Linked DNA regions of Homo sapiens: regions 2, 3 and 4 are each linked to region 1. The links are contacts of gene promoters, found by promoter capture Hi-C in human tissues and cell types (Jung and others, 2019). All regions are on one chromosome and are shown on one strand. Each heading gives the region's core, a stretch centred on a gene start or on the middle of the fragment in contact. The rest is flanking DNA. Distances are from core to core; before and after follow the strand shown. Region 1 holds the start of JMJD7 (jumonji domain containing 7). Region 2 overlaps TMEM87A (transmembrane protein 87A). Region 3 holds the start of NDUFAF1 (NADH:ubiquinone oxidoreductase complex assembly factor 1). Region 4 overlaps RTF1 (RTF1 homolog, Paf1/RNA polymerase II complex component).

Region 1 (6,033 bases), core at 1,971-4,470:
AAAAGAAAGAGCTGGCATGCCTGCTTGCTTCCCTGGCTAGAGTAGCTCCTCTCTGTGGGCAGGTTGTCCTGTCATCTCTCCAGCTCTCAGCAGAGAGGGTAGCTCCTCCCCGCAGCTGGTCGTCCCATCGTCTCTTCTGGTCTGGCTGAGTCAGGGGCTTTTTATGGGTCTCACAGGGGAGGAGGTACATGCCTATTGGTCCATGGGCAGCCATGGGTGGGCCGGAAAAAGCACCAAAAGTTCCCATTCCGGTCCATGGAACCGGCAGCCCAGCCCCCAGGCTTCAGGCCTTCCCTGGCTTGAAGGTCGGGCTTCACCGGGACCCGCCACCTTCCACCCAGGAACCTGTCTGCCTCTTGCCACCATTCACGGCACCCAAGCTGTTTGTGCCAAGGGGGTGCCTGCAGGCCAGCACTGAGCTGCCCTCAGCCCCTCTTGGCCTCCCTCCCATGCTCGTTGGCACCCAAAGGCCAGAGGGGGCCAAGGAGGCAGGGGGCTGGTGTGTCAGCACTGCAATAGCACCCAGGCTCGGCCTCAACTTTGCTCCATGATCTGATCAGGTGCTGACAGTGGGGAGAAGCCAGACAGCAGGATCAGGCACTTCCAAGCCTGCGGCAGCAGGAAGGGGCCTTCCTGGGTCCCCAAAAGTGCAGACATGCCTGGGTCCACAGCTGCAGCTTGGGAGGCTGCAGCTGCATCTAGGAGGGTGGGGCTCCTGCCTGCTCCTAGCTCCCAAGAGCACAGGGGTGCCTGAGTTGCAGTCCTGGCTTGGGTGGCTGTAATTGCGCCTAGGGAGCTCCCACTCCACCAACTTGGAAGGGGTGGGGCTCCCACTTGTCCCCAGTTCCCGCCAGCTCTGTGGAACATGTGGCCCCAGCTGCCTCTCCTCTTCACGTTTTCCCCACAGCGGCGGCGGGCAAGGTGCATATGGCATGGCAGCTCTGACCACCCCAAACAAATGAGCCTAGTAGTCCTGTGTTCCGGAAACAGTGAAGAAGCCAGTTTGCAGGAGCAGGGTCTTTGTGCACATGTGTGAGTATTTTTGTACTCACAAGTGCAAGTCCCTACAAGTCCCAGTTGCACCTTTGGCAGGGTGCTCGCAGGCTTCTGGGATGTGGCAGGGAGCGAGGTTCAGGCTGCAGCAGAGGGTCTGGGCTGAGGAGCAGGTCCTGCCCAGCCATGTGAGGGTGGGGGTGGTGCAGTCGGCTGCCTCGGGGATGCAGGGAACAGGGGACTCACTACCACCACTGCTGCTCCCAGAGCCACTTCTGCTGCCCGACTTGTGCCTCCCCACTGCAGCCAGCATGATGACAGCATCTGCTTCCAACTGCCCGCCACTGTCATCAAAACTGCTGGACTCAAACAATCCTCTTGCCTCAGGAGGTGGGACTACAGGCACATGCCACCACACGATGGTGTCTCACTATGTTGCCCACGCTGGTCTTGAACTCCTGGCCTCAAGAGATGCCTCCCACCTTGGTCTCCTGAAGTGCTAGGATTACAGGCGTGAGTACTGCACACAGCCTGGGATTCTGAAAATACATGGAAACTGCCATTTTTTCACCCTTTGGACTTCTGCAATTAGGGATTTGTTTTACTTGCTCACCATTTCCTTTAGAGAATGGCTGCTTTCCTCTCCTGGGGCTTCCAAGTGAGAAAATTTCAAAAGGGATCCAAACAATTGCTTTGACCCCATAACTCTGCTAAGAATTTAACAAGGCCGGGAGCAGTGGCTTATGTGTTCCATGGCGTTCCAAAACTTTGGAATGCTGAGGTGGAAGGATTGTTTGAGGAATCTGAGACCAGCCTTGTCTCTACTAAAATTCAAAAAAATTAGCCAGGCGTGGTGGCGCATGCCTGTAGTCTCAGCTACTCCCAGGTGCTGAAGCAGGAGGATCTCTTGAACCTGGGAGGTCGAGGTGCAGCGAGCTATGATCGTGCCACTGCACTCCAGCCTGTGTGACAGAGTAAGACCCTGTCTCAAAAAATATAAAGTATTTAACCAACAAACATACTCACACATGCGCAGAAGACGCTGCTCCTGCAGACTGGCTTCTTCACTGTTTCCTAAACACATCAGGCATACTCCCAAAGAGGGCTTTGCCTGCACTTACCTTCTAACCTACTTCTTCTACTCTACAATGTACTCATTCAGTACACCTGTGGTTGATTGTCCACGTTCTCACTTAGAATGTAACAGGACATAGACTGTAAAAGACAGATTTGTTTTGTTCAGTGATGTATCTCAAACACACTGAACAGAGCCTGGCACACAGAGATGCTGAATAAGTATTTGTTAAATCAATCCTCAAAGTATTCGTTGCAGCATTATTGAAAACAACGGATTGGACATGACCTAAATGACTAAGTGAATACAGCACTAGCACACAGACGTGAAAAAGACTGAGGTAGAGGAATGTGAAATGATCTCCAAGATACACGGTGCAGAAGAGTGTGTTTAGCAGGCTACTATTTGTACAAAAAAAGGGTAAAAAGTCGTGTGTGCACGGATATAAACAATCTTTCTGTAAGAATGCAAACTGGGGCTGGGAGGAAACCTTGCTTCATTTACATTGCGTACCACTGTATATTACATACCCATCACATACACATGAGCCTGTGTTGCTGTTCAGTGGTAAGAAATCATTTAAAAATAGAAAAAAGAAGGAAGGAGGGAAGAGAGAAAGAAAGAAAAGGAATAAAAACCAAGCAGGGGAAGAGCCAGGGACCATTTGGTCAGCCTGCAATCCTCCCAAAGTGCGACAAGGGAGTTGAGGTCGGAGGTGGGGCGCGTGGGGGAGGAATCCGACCACCAGCTGTGTGCCTTCGATGAGCTTTCAACAAGGGTAACAGCAAGCTGCTCAAGACTGTAGGAAACACAGGGCTTCGCCGCGACCACGGTCAAGACGGCACCGGGCCTTGGGAACAACGTGAACAGAATCACCCAGGAAGCCGCGGGAGCGCGCGAACACGGGAGAAGGGAAGCAGGTTGCCACAGAAGAGCAACCCGAGCGGGGCCTCAGGGCAGTCGCACACACGAGGTTCCGAGCCCCCGGTGTCAGCGGCATCCCAGGGCCCCTCCCGTGTTCGGAAATCGCCGCAGCCTGTGGGAGAGCCACTCACCCCTTGCAGCGGCCGGGAATTCTCGTAACTCGCTCCGCACGGCTTCCAAAGCCGCCTCCGCCATGGCTGCGTCAGCGCCGGCCGAGACCCCGCCTTTCCCCGACGCCCCGCCGCAGGCCACACCCCAAGCACTCGCCCCGCCCTCCCCAGAGTCCCCGCCGCAGGCCACACCCCCAGACCCTCGCCCCGCCCTTCCAGAGGCACCCGCCGCAGGCCACACCCCCAGCACCCCGCCCCGTCCTGCCCCTGGACACACACCGGGTTCTGCCACCGAAGCGGTGGAGCGACTGGCAGCGCCCGCTTCGGCCTGCCCCACTGGCCGGCATCCCAGGGTTAACAAACAATTGTGTTTATTGACAAGTTCATACATCAGTACAAACGGGCACGTTAAAAACAGCGCCCCCGCCCCATGCAGCCGAGGATGAGGCAGGAAGCGCCGCGACCTGCACAAAGTATAAAAGTTATAAATAAGGGGCTTTCAAAACAAGGCGGGGGCAAATCTGGAGTGGGGCGGCGGTTGCCGGTGGCCTCAGACATGCAGAAGGGGACGGGGCGCCGGCCGGGCCACGAGGCCCCCCACCCACATGGGGCAGAGGGCAGGAAAAGGGCGGCCACATTCTCACAAACTTCTGGCGAAGGGTAGCTCCCTCCTCGTGAAGGACCTGGCCCAGAGGGCGAACCTGAGTCCCACCTGCGGTGGGCGCGGCTGGTGTGGGAAGTCGGGGCACAGCAGGCACGGGCCCGCCCCCGCCGCCGCGGGAGTTCCAGGGCCATGCGGGTGGCGATGCTAGAGGAGTGGGGAAGGGCCAGGTTTGGAGCAGCTCAAGCGCACTCAGGCTGATGCCCCGGAGCTGGGAACCTTTTGTAACCCTTTTTCTTTTTTTTTTTTGAGATGGCGTGTAGCTTTGTCACCTAGGTTGGAGTGCAATGGCGCGATCTCGGCTCACTGCAACCTCCACCTCCACCTCCAGGGTTCAAGCGATTCTCCTGCCTAAACCTCCCGAGTAGCTGGGATTACAGGCGCCCACCACCACGCCCAGCTAATTTTTTTATTTTTAGTAGACAGGGTTTCACCATGTTGGCCAGGCTGATCTCGAACTCCTAACCTCAGGTGATCCACCCGCCTCGGCCTCCCAAAGTGCTGGGATTACAGGCTTGAGCCACCACACCTGGCCCAGAACCCATTTCTTTATAAGCCTCTGCCTATGGCGCAGCAGGGCGGGTGAAGGGGCTCTCGTGGCCTGAAGCTGTGGTAAAGCTGCTCTGACTTACCTGCAGCAGAGGGGAGCAGTAGGGCCCAGAAAAACCTTTCCTCAACTCTTCAACTGCCTCACGACATGGTCCCACTCTACCTCCTAGGGTCCCCTATCTCCTTTCCCTCACCCCTAATTACTGCCCTTTTACATTCTAACTTATCCCCTCACCTCTGCCACTTACCTGTCCCATCTACCACTTTTCTAGTGTCTCCTTTGGCCCCAGCACCTCCCTCCTCTCAAACTCCAGTATCCAGCACACCCGTGGGTGCCCAGCACTGCCTTTGAGGAGGCTCCTTCTACCTAAACCAGGTGTCCTATGGGCTATCTCGTATCAGCTAGGCTGTGGACACCAAGAATCCAGAATCTGGGTTCACTTAGTGTACTGCACCCCTTTTCTGCTCCCTGATAGGTGTTCCACATAAGCCAGGGTGGTGAAGCTGAGGCAGGATGTGAGGAAACCAGGCACACAGCAGCCAGCCAGATACTCTAGCAACCAACACTCAACAGCGTGCTGTGCAGGTAGGTGTGTGTGTGTACATGTGTGCACGTGCATGCGTGTGATCTCATCTGTGGCTGAGGTCCTCAGGAGGTAGGCCAGCGCCCCGTAAACGAGGGATGTTCCAACACAGGCTTCTGACTAAGCATCATTCAGGATGCAGGGAGAAGGTGGCCTCTGGGCTCCAGCAGCCGGCTGGGGTCCAGGGTGGAGGACAGGGAAGAACAAGGGGCTGAGGAAAGGAGGCCAGAGCTTCATGTTTGCCCAGGTGAGGGCTTACTGTCCTGCAGCAACATCCCACAGCTGGCTCAAGTTCTGGCCAGGAGAGTAAGGGGTCACAGGGAAATACAATGCTGGGCCCCTCTTGGAGGGAGAATGGGAGTGGAATGTGCGGGCTCAGGTCCAAATACCAACTCAAGTCTCCTGATGGCTGGGGACACCCTGGAGGGCCAGATGGCTCTGCCTTTCTGAGCTCCAGGTATTGGGGAAAACCACCCTGCTCTGGCAGCCACGGGAGTGCAGCTGGTGTGAGAGGGGAAGTGCAGGTAGAGGTGAAGGCCCACAGTTGGCTGACGGGCACTGAATACCACATCACCTCTCACCTCGACCCCAGAGTACCCTGTGTATGCTCCACCACAGGGAGCTAATCCCTGCAGTAATTTCAAATGGCTTCTAAGAGAGGGCCAGCCCTTCCCAGATTCCTAGATGGGGCAGGCTGCCCTCCTACCTCTCACAGCACCAAGATGACAAAGACCCAAGACCTGTCCCTGCCACTGGAGGGGCTGTGGAGGCAGGAGTTCCAAGGAAGTGAGGCAACAGTCAGGGAAATAAATTAATAAATACAGGCCCCCCACGAGGAGCGGCTGGGAAGGCTGCTTTGCCTCTGAACACTGCTCCCTGCTTTCCACTCCAAGCAGCCCCGCAGGTTTTGGTGAGGGGCAGAGGGGCTGCAGTTTGGAATCGCTGGAGCATTCATTCACTTGGGACAGGCTTCCAGAACTCAGAGTTTGCGTTCCATACGCCGTTCCACGGCTCGAAGCAACAGTTCTGAGTATTGCTCCAGCAGGGCCTGTGTCTGCTCGGCTCCCACAGCCCCAGGGCTGCTGCCTGGGCTGGACAGCACTGCCCCAGCCACAGCTTCCAGCTCCTGTCGCACTG
Region 2 (6,033 bases), core at 2,019-4,518, 430 kb before region 1:
CCAATGAAACAGAGAAGACAGCCCAGAAATAAGGCCGCACACCTACAACCATCTGATATTTAACAAAGCTGACAAAAAACAAGCAATGGGGAAAGGACTCCCTATTTAGTAGATAGTGTTGCGGTAGCGTGCTGGCCATATGCAGATTGAAACTGGACCCCTTCCTCACACCATATTCAAAAATCAACTCAAGATAGATTAAAGACTTAAATGTAAAACCCAAAACTATAAAAACCCTGGAAGACAACCTAGGCAATACCATTCTGGACATGGGAAGTGGCAAAGATTTCATGATGAAGATGCCAAAAGCAATTGCGCCAAAAGCAATTGCAACAAAAGCAAAAATTGACAAATGGGATCTAATTAAGTTTAAGAGCTTCTGCACAGCAAAAGAAACTATCAATAGAGTAGACAGCCTACAGAATGGGAGAAAATATTTGCAAACTATGCATCCAACAAAGGTCTAATATCCAGCCTCTATAAGGAACTTAAACAAATTTATATGCAAAAAACAACCCCATAGAAAAGTGGGTAAAGGACATGAACAGACACTTTTCAAAAGAAGATATACAGCCAACAAGCATATGAAAAAAAAAAAGCTCAGTATCGTTGATTATTAGAGAAATGCAAATCAAAACCACAATGAGATACCATCTCACATCAGAATGGCTATTATGAGAAAGTCAAAGGATAATAGATGCTGGCAAGGTTGTGGAGAAAAGGGAATGCTTATACATTGTTAGTGGGAGTGTAAATTAGTTCAACCACTGTGGAAAGCACTGTGGCAATTCCTCAAAGAGCTAAAAACAGAATTACCATTTGACCCAGCAATCCCATTACTGGGTATATATCCAAAGTAATATAAATCATTCTACCGTAAAGACATATGCACATATATGTTCACTGCAGCACTGTTTACAATAGCAAAGACATGGAATCAACCTAAATGCCCATCAATGGTAAACTGGATAAATGTGGTACATATGCGGCCATAAAAAAGAATGTGATACATATGCAACCATAAAAAAGAATGAGATCATTTCCTTTGCAAGAACACAGAAGGAGCTGGAGGCCATTAACCTTAGCAAACTAACACAGGAACAGAAAGCGAAATACCACGTTTTCACTTATAAGTGGGAGCTGAATGATGAGAACACATGATCACAAAGAGGGGAACGGCAGACACTGGGCCTACTTGAGGGTGGAGGGTGGGAGGAGGGAGAGGATCAGAAAAAATAACTCTTGAGTACTAGGCAGTACCTGGGTGATGAAATAATCTGTAAAACAGTTCCCTGTGAGTTCAGTTTACCTATATAACAAAGTTGCGTATGTATACCGGAACCTAAAATAAAAGTTAAAAAAAAAATATATATATATATATACACACACATATATATAGTTCTGAGTTGAATTTTTCAGACCTTTTCCATTCTGTTTCTATCTCTCAATTTGCATTTTTAAGAAGATTATCCTAGTTCTGTGCTTGCAACAATTTTCTGCTCTATCTTAGCTTATGAGCATGAATATTTTTTTGTTGATGTTGTTAATTTGGTCAAGTAAATCTTTTAAGTATATTTTAATGTGACAAAACCCTCTACACTCTGGCAGTTTCCCAGTCTACTCAGAATTGTTAGTAGAACTATGCCTTGTGAGCCAAAGACTAGAGTCTAATAGTCCTTGAGTCTGATAGTGTTTGATTCTTAGATATTTTTATATAGAGCCTTTATCTGATGCTGTTCATTTTTAAAATAGCAAACTCAAAATTGTATCTGTACTGCAGGTGAACTGTTTGTTGTGCTGTGCTCTTAGTATCTTATTTTTTGGAAGGTGAGTTAACTACTCTGTATTATCTCTTTTTCCAGGCAGAAGAAGTAGAGTTGTATTTGGAAAAACTTAAGGAAAAAAGAGGCTTGTCTGGGAAATATCAAACATCATCAAAATTGTTCCAGAACTGCAGTGAACTCTTTAAAACACAGGTAATCTTTGAAAGTGATTGGAGATAAATAGAATAGGCAAAAATTGGAATGTATATATTTTTGGCTGTATCCACTTCCGACTTCTCAAGTATTTCTTTTGGCAGAAGTAAGTGGAAGCATGTTCTGATAGGTACATAGTCAGCCACTTATACATACTCATCAAAGAGAGGTTGTACTTTGCTTTGTGTGTAAAAAGCAAACCCCCATTTTTTTATTGTGGTAAAATATACACTACATAAAATTTACCATTTTAACCATTTCTAAGTGTATAATACAGTGGCATTAAATATATTCACATTGCTGTGCAGCCATCGACCCATCTCCAGTACTTTTTTTTTCCCCAAGGCAGATTCTTGCTCTGTCCGCCAGGCTGGAGTGCAGTGGCACAATCTCGGCTCACTGCAGTCTCCATCACCCGGATCTAAGCAATTCTTTCACCTCAGCCTCCCAAGTGGCTAGGGCTACAGATTCACACCATTACGCCTGGCTAATTTTTTTTGTATTTTCTGTAGAGACAGGATTTCACCATGTTAGCCAGGCTGGTCTTGAACTCTTGACCTGAAGTGATCCACCCACCTTGGCCTCCCAAAATGCTGGGATTACAGGTGTGAGCCACCGGGCTGAGCCCCATCTCTAGTACTTTTATCATCCCAAACTGAAACATCATACCTATTAAACAAAAATTCCCCACCTTCCAACCCCAAGACCATGGTAACCACTCTTCTACTTTCCATGAATTTGACTATTCTAGATACCTCATATAAATAGAATCATACAACTTTTGTTCTTTTTTGTCTGACTTCTTCCACTTAGCATAATGTTTTTAAGGTTCATCCATGTTATAGCGTTATCAGAATTTCATTCCTTTTTAAGGCTAAGTGATGTTCTATTGTATGTATGTACCACATTTTGTTTTTCCATTCATCTGTTGATGGACATTTAAAACGTCACATTTTTAATTCTTTGGTCTCCTCATCTAATTAATATGTTCCCAGAAAAATCAGGGTTTTTAAAATTTACTTCTATAGATCTGAAATCAGAAGGGTATCATCATTGTCTTAGAGTTCAATTTCACACCTTAATTTTGTAGAAAGAGGGAGATGTGAATAATCATACATTTTTCGTGCTTACACATATGCAATCATGTAAGTGGAGATTCTGATATCAAATTTTGTTGTCTTAGAAATAGTAATCTCAGTTTTTTGATAGAAAAATTTTATATGTGTTGAAAATAGTTATAGTAATTATCATCTATACTTGTCCTTACTATATTTAAAAATTATTTTGGAATATTTAGCAACTTGCCTTGAACTGTCAAATTACTAGAAGTAAAGTTTATTATTAAGAAGACAAATTTAGTCATTGGTAATTGAGGCCAGATGCGGTGGCTCAGGCCTGTAATCCCAGCACTTTGGGAGGCCGAGGTGGGCGGATCACCTGAGGTCAGGAGTTCAAGACCAGCCTGGCCAACATGGTGAAACCCTGTCTCTACAAAAAAATTAGCCGGGCATGGTGGCGGGTACCTGTAATCCCAGCTACTCGGGAGGCTGAAGTGGGAGAATCACTTGAACCCAGGAGGCTGAGATAGTGTCAGTGCACTCCAGCCTGGGCGACAAGAGTGAAACTTGGTCTCAAAAAAAAAAAAAAAAAAGGGATAATTGATGAGCAGATGAATTAATTGGTAATTGAAGGAAGAGTTCCGCTTTTATTATAACTTAGATTTTATGGTCTTGGAGGGAAAAGAAAATAGCTTTAAGATGGTGAAAGAATGGTAGAGAAAGCTAGAAGCAATGTGATGTTGTGTAGTTTGTATGTTTTCTGTTGGTTTTCCAAATTTATCCCTTAGACTAGGAGGATTGGTTGGTCTTTTCTTGGATTTGATTATGGAAAGCTACCTGATGCATCTGGTTGCTGGAGGCTGACTACTTTTAGATGTGCTGTAATCTTTCCAGGGTCTTGGCTTATTGGTAAGGTTTCCTCTCCTCCTCCAGTCTAATGTAACAGGGTTGAATTACACAGTCTCATTACTCAGGAAGGACAATGCCTCATCTACTGATAACTGGTAAGAAAGATAATTAGTGTAGTTTTTTACAGGCATAAAAAATGTAGTATGGTGGAAGGGACAGCAGACCTAAGCATCAAGAATATTAGGTTTAGGCCGGGCGCGGTGGCTCACGCCTGTAGTCCCAGCACTTCGGGAGGCCGATGTGGGCGGATCATGAGGTCAGGAGATTGAGACCATCCTGGCTAACACGGTGAAACCCTGTCTCTACTAAAAATACAAAAAAATTAGCCAGGCATGGTGGCGGGCACCTGTAGTCCCAGCTATTCGGGAGGCTGAGGCAGGAGAATGGCATGAACCTGGGAGGCGGAGCTTGCAGTGAGCCGAGATAACACCACTGCACTCCAGTCTGTGCAACAGAGCAAGACTCCGTCTCAAAAAAAAAAAAAAGAATATTAGGTTTAAATCCTATTTCTTTGTCTAAAGCTTTGTAGTTTTGAGCCACATTTTACTCATCTGTAGAATGAGGGGAAATGATCTAAGCTTCTTCTATCCTAAGCATACATCCTATATCTAAAGCTTTGTCATTCTTAAATGTTTATTATTCTGATAGAAAAATTGAATGGCCATTTTGGTTTGATACTATTTTCTAGTTCCCAGCAGGGTTTTATTCACTTGTTTGTGGTTAATTGGAAATGTTTTGTCTACTGATGCTGTGTTATTATATTTACTAGTTAGGGTGTGGTGTTTTGTTCTAACCATTTCTTTGTATTTTGAGCTACACTTTTCTTCTAGTATTTACACACCTTTAATGTTTTGTTTTGTGTTTCTTTTATAGACCTTTTCTGGAGATTTTATGCATCGACTGCCTCTTTTAGGAGAAAAACAGGAGGTAATTGTTTTCATTATATATTTCTGAGAGTGCAGTAAAAACTTTGGTGGTGCAGGAGATACCCGTGCTCACTGCATCTCTAAGGAGGGAGTGCTGCACCTGGGGAGCAGGCTTCCCCAGTGGCTACAGGAACTTGGGCAGCTAAAAACAAGAAGTTCTGAATTAATTATTATTATTTTTTTAATGTTTAAAGGCTAAGGAGAATGGAACAAACCTTACCTTTATTGGAGACAAAACCGTAAGTATATTTGGGGATTTGGGGCATTGAACACATATTTTAGTTTTCTTAAATTTGTGTATTTCTGAATTGTTCTCCCATACTATGCTAATATTTGAAAAGAAAGTTAAATCTGGAAGCTATAGACCAAAATGTTAAAAATGGTTGGATCTCTGGATGATAGTATGAGTGATTTTTAGTTTCTTTGTGTTTTCTGAATTTTCTACTGTACACATGTATTGCTTTTATAATTATCCCCCCATAAATATCTGTAAACAGGAAGAAACTTATTAAAAATAAGAACTCTTAAACTTCATCTAAAATTATCTGTGATAAAATATAATTGAAAGAGAGTTTGGAAAAATTGAAATAAGGTCTAAAGCTATAAATATGCCTTAAGTTTTCATAAATATGCATTGTATGGATACTATTTTCAAATTCATAATTAATTCCTCAAAACATCACCAGTTAAAAATTTAGAGGAAGGATGACAGCTATCAATGTTGGGTTATGGTTTTTACAAAGCTGATTAAAGTTTTTAATTTTATAACAACTTTATGAAGGTATAATATACATATTACAGAAGTTATGTTTTGTTTCGTTTTTTGAGACAAGGTCTCACTCTTGCCCATGCTGGAGAACAGTGGTATGAAGATGGCTCCCTGCAGCCTTGACGTCTTGGGCTCAAGTGATCCTCCTGCCTCAGACTCCAAGTAACTGGGGCCACAGGCACATACCACCATGCCTGGTTAATTTTAAAAAATTTTTTGTGGGGGTTGGGTCTCACCATGTTGCCCAGGCTGGTATAGAACTCCTAGGCTCAAGTAATAGTCTCACTTCAGCCTCCCAAAGTGCTAGGATTATAGGCGTGAGCCACTGCACCTAGCCTAAAAGTTGTTATTAAAGTTATTAAAGCATATAATTGAGTGGTTTTTAGTATTCTCAA
Region 3 (6,033 bases), core at 1,465-3,964, 430 kb after region 1:
TACATAATCATTTCCCCTCAGCTCTTTGCCTTTATTTCCTTCCTTTATTTCCTATATTTCCTTCCCCTAGTGACTCTACCTTTTCTTCTGCCTGGCATTGTCATGTCCTTCCTTTCTATTTGAATATTTTTTTCTTTCTTCCAGCCTTCCTTTCTCCACTGGTAATAAATACATATGGGGCTTCCTATACTTAAGCAAACAGCCTGGCACAGTGGCTCACGCCTGTAATCCCAGCACCTTGGATGGCCGAGGTGGGTGGATCAACTGAGGTCAGGAGTTGGAGACCAGCCTGGCCAACATGACGAAACCCTGACTCTGCTAAAAATACAATAATCAGCTGGGTGTGGTGGCATGCACCTCTAATCCCAGCTACTCAGGAGGCTGAGGCAGGAGAATCACTTGAACCCGGGAGGCGGGGGTTGCAGTGAGCCGAGATCACGCCACTGCACTCCAGCCTGGGTGAGGAAGACTGTGGTTCAAAAAAAAAAAAGCAGCAAACAACTAATGATTAGAGACATGCAAATCAAAACCAAAATGAGATACCACTTCACACTCATTAGGATGGCTACTATATTTTAAAAACCAAAAAAACAAGAAACGTGTCAGTGGGCTTGGAAAGAAGGTGTGAAAAGATCAAAGATCAAAAACAGCAAGAGAATGCAACAGGATTTAAAATCAGTAAGAGAAGATTTTAAGGAGAGGAGCCAAGGACAGTCAAGCATTTCCATCCTAGAAGGATGTGGCCATTTACAGAAATAGGGAGACAGGAGGAATTAGTAGGAGGAAAAATGACACATTTAGTTTTAGACATTTAGTTTTCTTTATTGCTCAAGGATATTTCCTAAAAAACAACAACAAAAAGACATTTCGATTTTTTCTTTTTCTGAGACGGAGTCTGGCTCTGTGGCCCAGGCTGGAGTGCAGTGGTGCGATCTCGGCTCACTGCAAGCTCCGTCTCCCGGGTTCACGCCATTCTCCTGCCTCAGTCTCCTGAGTAGCTGGGACTACAGGCGCCCGCCAGCACGCCCGGCCAATTTTTTTGTATTTTTAGTAGAGACGGGGTTTCACCGTGTTAGCCAGGATGGTCTCGATCTCCTGACCTTGTGATCCGCCCGCCTCGGCCTCCCAAAGTGCTGGGATTACAGGCGTGAACCACCGCGCCCGGCCGATAACTTATATTTGAAACTAGAAAAGAGGTAGAGGCAGGATGGGCCATGGAGAGACAGCCCGCATTAAAGGTTGTGGGAAGAGAATAGAAGAGTCAGTGATGGGGGCAGAAAGGTAAGGTTTGAGGGGGCAAGTGTAGAGTCTAGAGAAGCCAAGCCGAATTTGAGGAAGAGGAGGCGGCGCGGAAACTAGTGAAGGAGAAAACATGGAAAGGGCTAGTGTATTTAGTGAGCTCCTTCGGAACCTTAGAGAACAAAGGTGTTACGGAACTATATGCTCTCAAATTCACACTAAGCACTAAATTCCCGCCGCTATGGTACATTCTGGGGAAAGGAAAAACAGCGCAGTCTGGACCCAAGAAAGCTCACAGCGTGGCAAAGGAAGTGAGAAGTGAGTGAAAGATACAATGTTGATTCTGTCTTCCCTGGCAGTAAGAAAAAAAAACAAAAACAAACAATGTTTAAGTGCTTTGGCCGGGCATGGTGGCTCACGCCTGTAATACCAGCACTTTGGGAGGCCGAGGTGGGTGGATCATGAGGTCAGGATTTCGAGACCAGCCTGGCCAACATGGCGAAACCCCATCTCTACTAAAAATACAAAAATTATCCGGGTGTGGTGGCACACACCTGTAATCCCAGCTACTTGGGAGGCTGAGGCAGGAGAATTGCTCCAACCCAGGAGTCGGAGGTTGCAGATCGCGCCACTGCACTACAGCCTGGGCAACAGAGTGAGACTCCGTCTCAAAAAAAAAAAGTGCTTTAAGAGAGGTGTGCACAAGGTACAAACAGATGCCCTGAGCAACTGGCGACCGTGTGGGGCGAGACTCGGGAAGGGCTGGTAGGAGGGGCTGCTGTCCAGGTGCGTGGTGGTCCTCAAGAATTCATGGGGGCAATTCCAGCAGAATCGGCCTTTTGAGGCCTCAGGCAGTTCTTGTGGGGACCGAGGCGACAGATAAGGAAGGAAGGGATACAGGCGCGTTAGCAATAACTGGGTTCTATTTGAAAGACGCAGGGGGCCGGGCTTGGTGGCTCGCGCCTGTAATCTCAGCACTTTGGGAGGCCGAGGCGGGTGGATCACGAGGTCAGGAGATCGAGATCATCCCGGCTAACATGGTGAAACCCCGTCTCTACTAAAAATACAAAAATTAGTCGGGCATGATGGCGCGCACCTGTAATCCCAGCTACTCGGGAGGCTGAGGCAGGAGAATCGCTTGAATCTGGGAGGCAGAGGTTGTAGTGAGCCGAGATCGCGCCACTGCACTCCAGCCTGGGCGACAGAGCGAGAATCCGTCTCAAAAAAAAAAAAAAAAAAAAAGACGCAGGGATGGAGTTTGCCGCCTGAAAGGATACAGGAAGGAGAGGCGAAAAACTTATCTGAATTCTCACTGCTTCCTTACAACTGGCGACCAAGTGGACCAAAAACCTCCAAAAACCTCAGTTGGCTGGGCTACGGGGTCCTTGCTGTCCTTCCTGGGCTTCTGTACTCGGCCGGAACTTTGGTGTTCTGACGCCTTGTTTGGCATCGGAAGGGAAAAGCAGATGGACCTATACGGGTAAAGTGGCTTCTGGGCGGAAGGTACACTATAGGCTCGGGGAGGTAAGCGGCGGCAGGCCGGCGGTTGGTGTGTCCCGGGTGTGGGGAGGCGACAGAGCCCTGGCACTTGAGGGTTGAGGGGGCCTCCCCAGCGCGGCGAACCGTCTAGCCTCCGGAGGCCAGGCCGTGAGTGCGGGAGGTATACGCCAAGGCGGAAGAATTTTGCCACTCACTACCTGTGTGACCTCGGGTAAATTAGCCTTGGAACGTCAGTTTCTTCGTCTCTATAATTGAAATAATAATAGTACCTCTCTCAGGATTGTTGTGAGCCGTCAGTGAAACACTTAGAGCAGTTTCTGGCACATGGTAAGGCATGGATAGCTTTACTAATTCTACTCACTTCTAGCTGCGTGGATTGTGTTGTCAAAACCCACCGTCAACCTCAGGGCGGTATTGTCCAGTTAATAGTTTAGATTTTCTGTTTACTGGTAGAAAAAAAAAAATGAAACAAAGCATTTATAATTAAAGTTATATTATTAGAGAAGTAACACTACGGAGGGTTTGGAAAACATTTTATGAGCTATCATTTGTTTCTCAAATTTCGGTATGTGTAGAGGTAAAATCATTTAAGTGCAACCGGCGCGGGGGAATTTAAATATTATCCATAATTCCGGGACCTCAGATCAACTGTTAATTTTTCCTGGTTCCCTTAACGTTTATAATACATGTGAAAACATACTGTTTACATGGTTTTGATTTATCAACAAACCTTATTGATAATGTCGGCTGGGCGCGGTGGCTCACGCCTGTAATCCCAGCACTTTGGGAGGCCGAGGCGGGCGGATCACTTGAGGTCAGGAGTTCGAGACCAGCCTGGCCAACATGGTGAAACCCTGTCTCTACTAAAAATACAAAAATTAGCTGGGCGTGGTGGCGCACGCCTGTAATCCCAGTGACTGAGGCAAGAGAATTGCTTGAAACCAGGAGGTGGAGGTTACAATGAGCCGAGATCGCACAACTGCACTCCAACTTGGGGGACAGAGCTGGACTCTGTCTTAAAAAAAAAAAAAAAAAAGTTGGGCATGGTGGCGGGCACCTGTAATTTCAGCCACTCGGGAGGCAGAGGCAGGAGAAGCACTTGAACCCGGGAGGCGGAGGTTGCAGTGAGCCAGGGTCGTGCCATTGCACTCCAGCCTGGGTGACAGAGCGAGACTCCATCTCAAAAAAAAAAAAAAAAAAAAAGGTTGGGCGCCGTGGCTGACGCCTGTAATCCCAGTACTTTAGGAGGCCCATGTAGGCGGATCACCTGAGGTCAGGAGTTCGAGACCACTCTGGCCAACATAGTGGAACCTCATCTCTACTGAAAAAACAAAAACAAAAACAAAAATTAGCCGGGCATGGTGGCGCCCGCCTGTAATCCCAGCTATTCAGGAGGCTGAGACAAGAGAATCGCTTGAACCCAGGAGGCGGAGATTGCAGTGAGCGGAGATCTCTAGCCTGGTGACAGAGCAAGACTCCGTCTCAAAAAAAAAAAAAAGTATTGATAATGTCATTTTACCTATTGGTGTCTGTATCCTACAGAAAGGAAATACGTATCTGACTTGTTTCATAGGATTTGTGTGTGGATGGCATGAGATAATATATATCAGGGTGATATGAAAGTGTTAGGAGTAGGCTGGGCATGGTGGCTCACACCTGTAATCACAGTACTTTGGGAGAACAAGGCAGGTGGATCACGTGGTCAGGAGATCGAGACCATCCTGGCTAACACGGTGAAACCCTGTCTCTATTAAAAATCCAAAAAAAAAAAAAAAAAAAAAATAGCTGGGCATGGTGGCGGGCGCCTGTAGTCCCAGCTACTCGCGAGGCTGAGGCAGGAGAATGGCGTGAACCCGGGAGGCGGAGCTTGCAGTGAGCCGAGATCGTGCCACTGCACTCCAGCCTGGGTGACAGAGTGAGACTCTGTCTCAAAAAAGAAAAAAAAAAGTATTAGGAGTGGTATTCATCAGGTGCAGTGGCTCACGCCTGTAATCCCAGGTACTCCAGAGGCTGAGGCAGGAGGATCACTTGAACCCAGGAGTTAGAGACTCGTCTGAGCAACATAACAAGACCTCATCTCTATTTTTTTTTTTTTTTTTTTGAGATGGAATTTTGCTCTTGTTGCCCAGGCTGGAGTGCAATGGCGTGATCTTGGCTCACCACAACCTCCACCTCCTGTTCAAGCTATTCTCCTGCCTTAGCCTCCCAAGTAGCTGGGACTACAGTTGTGCGCCACCACACCGGGCTAATTTTGTATTTTTAGTAGAGATGGGGTTTCTTCATGTTGGTCAGGCTGGCCTCAAACTCCTGACCTTGTCATCCACCCACCTTGGCCTCCCAAAGTGCTGGGATTACAGGCGTGAGCCACTGCGCCTGGCCTTACAATTTTTTATTTTTATTTATTTATTTTTTAGACAGAGTCCTGCTCTGTTGCCCAAGCTGGAGTGCAGTGGCTTGATCTTGGCTCACTGCAGCGTCCCACTCCTGGGTTCAAGCGATTTTCCTGCTTCAGCCTCCCGAGTAGCTGGGATTATAGGTGCTTGCCACCACCCTATAGGTGCCCGTCACCACACCCAGCTAATTTTTGTATTTTTTTTTTTTTTTTTTTTTTTTTTGAGAAGGAGTCTCGCTCTGTCGCCCAGGCTGGAGTGCAGTGGCGGGATCTCGGCTCACTGCAAGCTCCGCCTCCCGGGTTCACGCCATTCTCCTGCCTCAGCCTCCCGAGTAGCTGGGACTACAGGCGCCCGCCACTACGCCCGGCTAATTTTTTGTATTTTTTTAGTAGAGACGGGGTTTCACCGTTTTAGCCGGGATGGTCTCGATCTCCTGACCTCGTGATCCGCCCGCCTCCGCCTCCCAAAGTGCTGGGATTACAGGCGTGAGCCACCGCGCCCGGCCTGTATTTTTTTTTTTGAGACAGAGTTTCACTTTTGTTGCCCAGGCTGGAGTGCGATGGTGCAGTCTTGGCTCATTGCAGCCTCTGCCTCCCAGGTTCAAGCGATTCTCCTGCCTCAGCCTCCCGAGTAGCTGGGATTACAGGTGCCCACCACCATGCCCAGCTAATTTTTTTTTTTTTTTAGTTGGAGTCACTCTGTCGCCCAGGCTGGAGTGCAATGGCACGATCTCGGCTCACTGCAACGTCTGCCTCCTGGGTTCAAGCGATTCTTATGCCTAGGCCTCCCAAGTAGCTGGGATTACAGGCATGGGCCACCACACCTGGCTAATTGTTTGTATTTTCTGTAGGGGTTTCACCATGTTGGTTAGGCTGGTCTTGAACTCCTGTCCTAGGTGATC
Region 4 (6,033 bases), core at 1,398-3,897, 400 kb after region 1:
CCGGGAGGCGGAGGTTGCAGTGAGCTGAGATTGCCCCACTGCACTCCAGCCTGGGCAACAAAGAGCAAAACTCCATTTCAAAAAAAAATAAAACTTGACACCATAGGTATGCCAAGTAGCATCTGCTTATTCAACAAAAATTTATTAAGTGCCTACTCTGTCAGGCGAGCATCGGCATAATTATTATTACTGTTATTATTATTTGAGTCAGGGTCTCACTGTCACCCAGGCTGGAGTGCAGTTGTGTGATCATGGCTCTCTGCAGCCTCAACCTCCTAAGCTCAGGTGATCCTCCTATCTCAGCCTCCTGGGTAGCTGGGACTACAGGCACACACCACTACACCCAGCTTATGTAGCTTTTATTTTGAATGAATAGCTGGGACCACAGGCGCATGCCACCACACTCAGCTAATTTTTTAAAAATTTTGTAGGGCCGGGCGCAGTGGCTCACGCCTGTAATCCCAGCACTTTGGGAGGCCAGGGTGGGTGGATCACGAGGTCAGGAGATCCAGACCATCCTGGCTAACACGGTGAAACCCCGTCTCTACTAAAAATACAAAAAATTAGCCGGGCATGGTGGCGGGTGCCTGTAGTCCCAGCTACTCAGGAGGCTGAGGCAGGAGAATGGCGTGAACCCGGGAGGCGGAGCTTGCAGTGAGCCGAGATCGCACCACTGCACTCCGGCCTGGGCAACAGAGCAAGACTCTGTCTCAAAAAAAAAAAAAAAAAAAAAAAATTTGTAGACCAGGCATGGTGGCTCATGCCTGTAGTCCCAGCACTTTGGGAGGCCAAGGTGGGTGGATCACGAGGTCAGGAGTTCAAGACCAGCCTGGCCAACATGGTGAAACCCTATCTCTACTAAAAATACAAAAATTAGCTGGGCGTGGTGGTGGGCCCCTGTAATCCCAGCTGCTTGGCAGGCTGAGGCAGGAGAATTGCTTGAACCTGGGAGGTGGAGGTTGCAGTGAGCCGAGATCACACCATTGCGCTCCAGCCTGGGCAACAGAGTGAGACTCTGCCTAAAAAACAAACAAACAAACAAACAAACAAAAATTACACACACACACACACACACACACACACACACACACACACACACATATATATGTAGCGGCTGGGCACAGTAGACTCACGCCTGTAATCCCAACACTTCAGGAGGCCGGCGGGGGGGGGGGGCGGGGGGGGGGGGGGGCGGGGTGGATCACCTGAGGTCAGGAGTTCGAGACCAGCCTGGCCAACATGGAAAAACCCCATCTCTACTAAAAATACAAAAAAATGGCCAGGCACAGTGGCTCACGCTTGTAATCCTAGCAGTTCGGGAAGCCGAGGTGGGCAGATCATGACGTCTGGAGTTCGAGATCAGCCTGGCCAATATGGTGAAACCCTGTCTCTACTAAAAATACAAAAAATTAGTCAGGCATGGTGGCGCACGCCTGTAGTCCCAGCTACTCGGGAGGCTGAGGCAGAAGAATCGCTTGAATCCAGGAGGGGGAGGTTGCAGTGAGCAGAGATCGTGCCACTGCACTCCACCCTGGGCGACAGAGCGAGACTCTATCCCAAAAAAAAAAATAAAAACAAACAATCAAAAAAATTAGCTGGGCATGGTGGCATGTGCCTGTAATCCCAGCTACTCAGGAGGCTGAGGCACGAGAATCGCTTGAACCCAGGGCGGAGGTTGCAGTGAGCCAAGATGGTGTCACTGCACTCCAGCCTAGGCAACAGAGCGAGACTCCACCTCCAAAAAAAATTTTTTTTTTTTGTAGAGATCAGGTTTCATCATCATGTTGCCTAGGCTGATCTCAAACTCCTGAGCTCAAGCAATCCTCCCACCTCAGCCTCCCAAAGTGCTGGGATTACAGGCATGAGCCATTGTGCCTGGCCCTCAAGTGTTATTTTCAACTACCTACTTGATGTCTCCACTTAGACATCTCATAGTCACTTCGAACTCCACATATCCCAGACTGAATGCAGGATCTTCACCTCTAAACCTGCTCCTCCAGCACTCCCCATCTCATGCCAGTGCCTGGCATCAATCCTAAATACTCCTCTTCTCATCCTAACATCTAATCAGTCCTCAGTCTTCAAGGCCTTTTAGTTCTACATACTGAACATCATGTCCAACCAATTCCACTATCTGTCATCTCTATAACAACCATATCAATCCAAGTCAGTCCTTCATTTAATAAATACTGACTGGGTGCCAACTGCATATAGGCACTGCTCTAGATGCCAGGGACAGCATAGTGAACACATACGGTTACCCTCCTGGCGCTTCCATTCTAATGGAACTTATGTTCTCCATCATCTCTCATCTGGACTCCTCTCTCTGCCACTTCATTAGTGTCCCCCTCCATATTACTCTCCACAATAGTCTGGGTAAGGCAAATCTGAAAATCTTCTCCAACTTAAAATCCTTCAATGGCTTCCTATTACTCTCAGAATAAACTCCAAAGTCTCTACTAAAAATACAAAAATTGGCCAGGCGCGGTGGCTCACACCTGTAATCCCAGCACACTTTGGGAGGCCGAGGCGGGCAGATCATGAGGTCAGGAGATCAAGACCATCCTGGCTAACATGGTGAAACCCGTGCCTACTAAAAATACAAAAAAAAAATTAGCCGGACACAGTGGCAGGCGCCTATAGTCCCAGCTACTCGGGAGGCTGAGGCAGGAGAATGGTATGAACCCGGGAGGCGAAGCTTGCAGTGGCAGAGACAGCGCCACTGCAGTCCGGCCTGGGCAAAAGAGCGAGACTCCGTCTCAAAAATAAAAAACAAAAATTAGCCAAGTGTGGTGGCACACACTTGCAGTCCCAGCCACCGGGGAGGCTGACGCCCTCCAGTGGCTTTAAATTTTTTTCTTTTTTTCTTTTGTTTTTTTTAGACGGAGTCTCTCTGTCACCCAGGCTAATACAGTGGTGATCTCGGCTCACTGCAACCTCCGCCTCCTAGGTTCAAGGGATTCTCATGCCTCAGCCTCACCAGTGGCTGGGACTACAGGTGTGTGCCACCGCACTTGGCTAATTTTTGTATTTTTACTAGAGATGGGGTTTCGCCATGTTGGCCCGCCTGGTCGAACTCCTGGCCTCATATGATCCACCCACCTCGGCCTCCCAAAGTGCTGGGATTAAAGGCGTGAGCCACTGCGCCTGGCCAAAAAACTTTTCTCTTTTTAACGCAGCCCACAGGAAGATAAATTATACCTCACAACCCAGTATACATCTACATGTACATATGAGACACACAAATTTCATCACTTATATTTACTATGTATGACACATTTGATGTTTTCTATCAATTCAATTTTATTTTTACTGCTGAGTGTAGTCCGTAAACTGACTTCTCCATCCTCAAAGGGTCAAAACAGAATCTACCTCTACAGTTTCATTTGTACTATTCTCTCTCCAACTATGCAACTAGTTTATGTTACTCACTCTGTGCTTCTTTCAGTTTCATAAGGGTTCGAGGTCCTTCCTGTCTCATTTCTTTTATATATGCTGGTGCCTCAACCATGAACATTCAACACTCTTCCCTTTACTCTTCAGTCTTCTAATCTGCTTCTCCTTAACACATATTCCAGGTCTGTTTCAATGTCACTCTCATCAGGCTAGAATAGGGTCCCTGGTTAATATTTCCACAGTATTCTTGTCCTTGCTTCATGGCCTGTAGTGCAATTGTAAGGAAATTACTCTCTCTGAGCAATCTCCCCACCTCATCTCTCTCTCATTCCACTTTACACTCCTTGAAGGTGGAAACTGCTTCCATTTTGTTCACCCAATAGCTCTAGTGTCTAACGCTGTCTAATACATCTGTTGAACGATGAACAATCAGGCCGGATGCGGTGGCTCATGCCTGAAATCCCAGCACCCTGGGGAAGCCAAGGAGGGCGGATCACTTGAGGTCAGGAGTTTGAGACCAGCCTGGCCAACATGGTGAAACCCCATCTCTACTAAAAATACAAAAATTAGTCGGGCATGGTGGTGCATACCTGTAATCCCAGCTACTTGGGAGGCTGAGGCAGGATAATTGCTTGAACCCGGGAAGCGGAGGTGGCAGTGAGCTGAGATCGTCCCACTGCACTCCAGCCTGGGCAACAAAGTGAGACTCCATCTCAAAATAAATAAATAAATAAATAAAAATAAATACACCAATATGACCTGTGTCTGAAGATCAGTTTTGTATTTTTCCTAAAAGCCTCACTGTTAAAGCTCCCAGGGCTGGGCGTGGTGGCTCACCCCTGTAATCCCAGCACTTTGGGAGGCCGAGGTGGGTGGATCATCTGAGGTCGGGAGTTTGAGACCAGACTGACCAACATGGAGAAACCCCATCTCTAATAAAAATGTAAAATTAGCCGGGAGTGGTGGCGCGTGCCTGTCATCCCAGCTACTCGGGAGGCTAAGGCAGGAGAATCACTTGAACCTAGAGGCGGAGGCTACAGTGAGCCCAGCGTGCCATTGCTCTCCAGCCTGGGTGACAGAGCAAGACTCCATCTTGGGTGGGGGCTGGGTGGGGAGGGAGCTCCCATGGGACTCACTCTTTGAAAAGAGTGAAATTAACAAGCGAATTACATCAAGCTAGATGCAACATGACACAAATTAAAGTTTTCACAAATTAACACTGACACTTCTCACAAACTCTTCCTACACTTCAAAATTTGCCTCTGATTAATGCGGAAAACACTACATTAACAAGAAGCACAACTTTTAAATTTCTCAAGATTTATGGGGAAGGTTTATAGAAGTATACTTTATAATAATAATATTCTTTACATGTAGTATCTAAAAACAGCTCCTAGAAAATACTTACAGGGCTGGCCGGGCACGGTGGTTCACGCCTGTAATCCCAACACTTTGGGAGGCCGAGGAGGGTGGATCACGAGGTCAGGAGTTCAAGACCAGCCTGGCCAAGATGGTGAAACCCCGTCTCTACTAAAAATACAAAAATTAGCTGGACGTGGTGGCGTGCGCCTGTAATCCAAGCTACTCGGAAGGCTGAGGCAGAGAATTGTTTGAACCCGGGAGGCGGAGGCTGCAGGAGCCAAGATCGCGCCACTGCACTCCAGCCTGGGTGACAGAGCGAGACTCCGTCTCAAAAAAAAGAAAAAAGAAAATACTTAGGGGGGCCTATTCTCTCAAAGACAAATTTAATTATTGCTACTTCAAGTTAGATAAACAGAGAAAAACAGGACATGACAATATAATCTCCATTTTAAATAAGAAACCTATAAAATAAAGCATCCCAGTGTGCACATAGCTCAATTTTTAGTTTTTTAGAAAGGTAGAGTAAAATTTTTATAAATACGGAGTTGTACTGATTTGAATTGAGAACTCTGGTTCCTTTATTATCTTGAATGCTTTTCATTTTATAGGACTTACTGCATAAATATTATTCCATAAAGGGAGATGACATAGAGCCCAGAGGTTTGCCTCAAATTATTATTTCCCAATAGGCACCAACAGCAAGTATCTTGAAATTTAAAAATGTTGAAGAAAGGGTGTGGTCAAAATAAGGACAGAGTCACTATCAGGTCAAATGCTAAAAGAAAAGCTTTCAAACTCTCAAACTAGGTCTTAGTTTTAAAAACTTTCAAAGGTTAAAATAAGGCCAGGTGCTGGATCACCTGAGGCCAGGAGTTAGAGACCAGTCTGGCCAACATAGCGTCTCTACTGAAAATACAAAAAATTAGCCAGGTGTGGTGGCAGGCGCCTGTAATCTCAGCTACCCAGGAGGCTGAGGCAGGAGAATTGCTTGAACCCAGGAGGTGGAAGGTGCAGTGAGTCGAGATCGTGCTATTGTACTCCAGTCTGGGCGATAGAGTGAGACTCCATCTCAAAAATAAATAAATAAACAAACAAACAAATAAATAAATAAGGCCTGGTGTGGCAGCTCACACCTGTAATTCCAGCACTTTGGGAGGCCAAAGCCTGAGAATCACCCAAGCCCAGGAGTTTCAGACTAGCCTAGGCAATGTAGTGGGACCCCCATCTCTACAAATGATTTTAAAAATTAGCTGGGTGTGGTGGTGCACACCTGTA

The links. Contacts are between HindIII fragments. The study calls those that stand out against the background at their distance.
Region 2: a fragment that was not itself captured here is called in contact with the fragment with the promoter of JMJD7 in region 1 in 1 of the 25 tissues and cell types used here (aorta).
Region 3: the fragment with the promoter of NDUFAF1 here is called in contact with the fragment with the promoter of JMJD7 in region 1 in 1 of the 25 tissues and cell types used here (hippocampus).
Region 4: a fragment that was not itself captured here is called in contact with the fragment with the promoter of JMJD7 in region 1 in 1 of the 25 tissues and cell types used here (dorsolateral prefrontal cortex).

What each region holds. Positions count from the first base shown.
Region 1 is chr15:41,825,279-41,831,311 of GRCh38, reverse strand. JMJD7 (jumonji domain containing 7) reads right to left here and starts at 3,220. Exons shown (of 8, transcript NM_001114632.2): 1 at 3,124-3,220. The coding sequence starts at 3,187. It overlaps MAPKBP1 (mitogen-activated protein kinase binding protein 1), which reads right to left. Exons shown (of 31, transcript NM_014994.3): 31 at 3,457-6,033. The coding sequence ends at 5,876. It overlaps JMJD7-PLA2G4B (JMJD7-PLA2G4B readthrough), which reads right to left and starts at 3,220. Exons shown (of 25, transcript NM_005090.4): 1 at 3,124-3,220. The coding sequence starts at 3,187. RefSeq lists a silencer at 3,243-3,332 and enhancers at 3,067-3,361, 3,393-3,622, 4,668-5,550. The HindIII fragment of the contact is 30,158 bases long and covers 1-6,033 here.
Region 2 is chr15:42,260,033-42,266,065 of GRCh38, reverse strand. It overlaps TMEM87A (transmembrane protein 87A), which reads left to right. Exons shown (of 20, transcript NM_015497.5): 4 at 1,863-1,976; 5 at 4,817-4,870; 6 at 5,064-5,108. Among named protein-coding and RNA genes, the nearest start is that of GANC, 10 kb to the left of the region's middle. The HindIII fragment of the contact is 5,078 bases long and covers 730-5,807 here.
Region 3 is chr15:41,399,177-41,405,209 of GRCh38, reverse strand. NDUFAF1 (NADH:ubiquinone oxidoreductase complex assembly factor 1) reads left to right here and starts at 2,714. Exons shown (of 5, transcript NM_016013.4): 1 at 2,714-3,066. The HindIII fragment of the contact is 27,298 bases long and covers 1-6,033 here.
Region 4 is chr15:41,421,849-41,427,881 of GRCh38, reverse strand. The region is part of intron 1 of RTF1 (RTF1 homolog, Paf1/RNA polymerase II complex component); the gene reads right to left. Among named protein-coding and RNA genes, the nearest start is that of RTF1, 7.8 kb to the right of the region's middle. The HindIII fragment of the contact is 8,350 bases long and covers 1-6,033 here.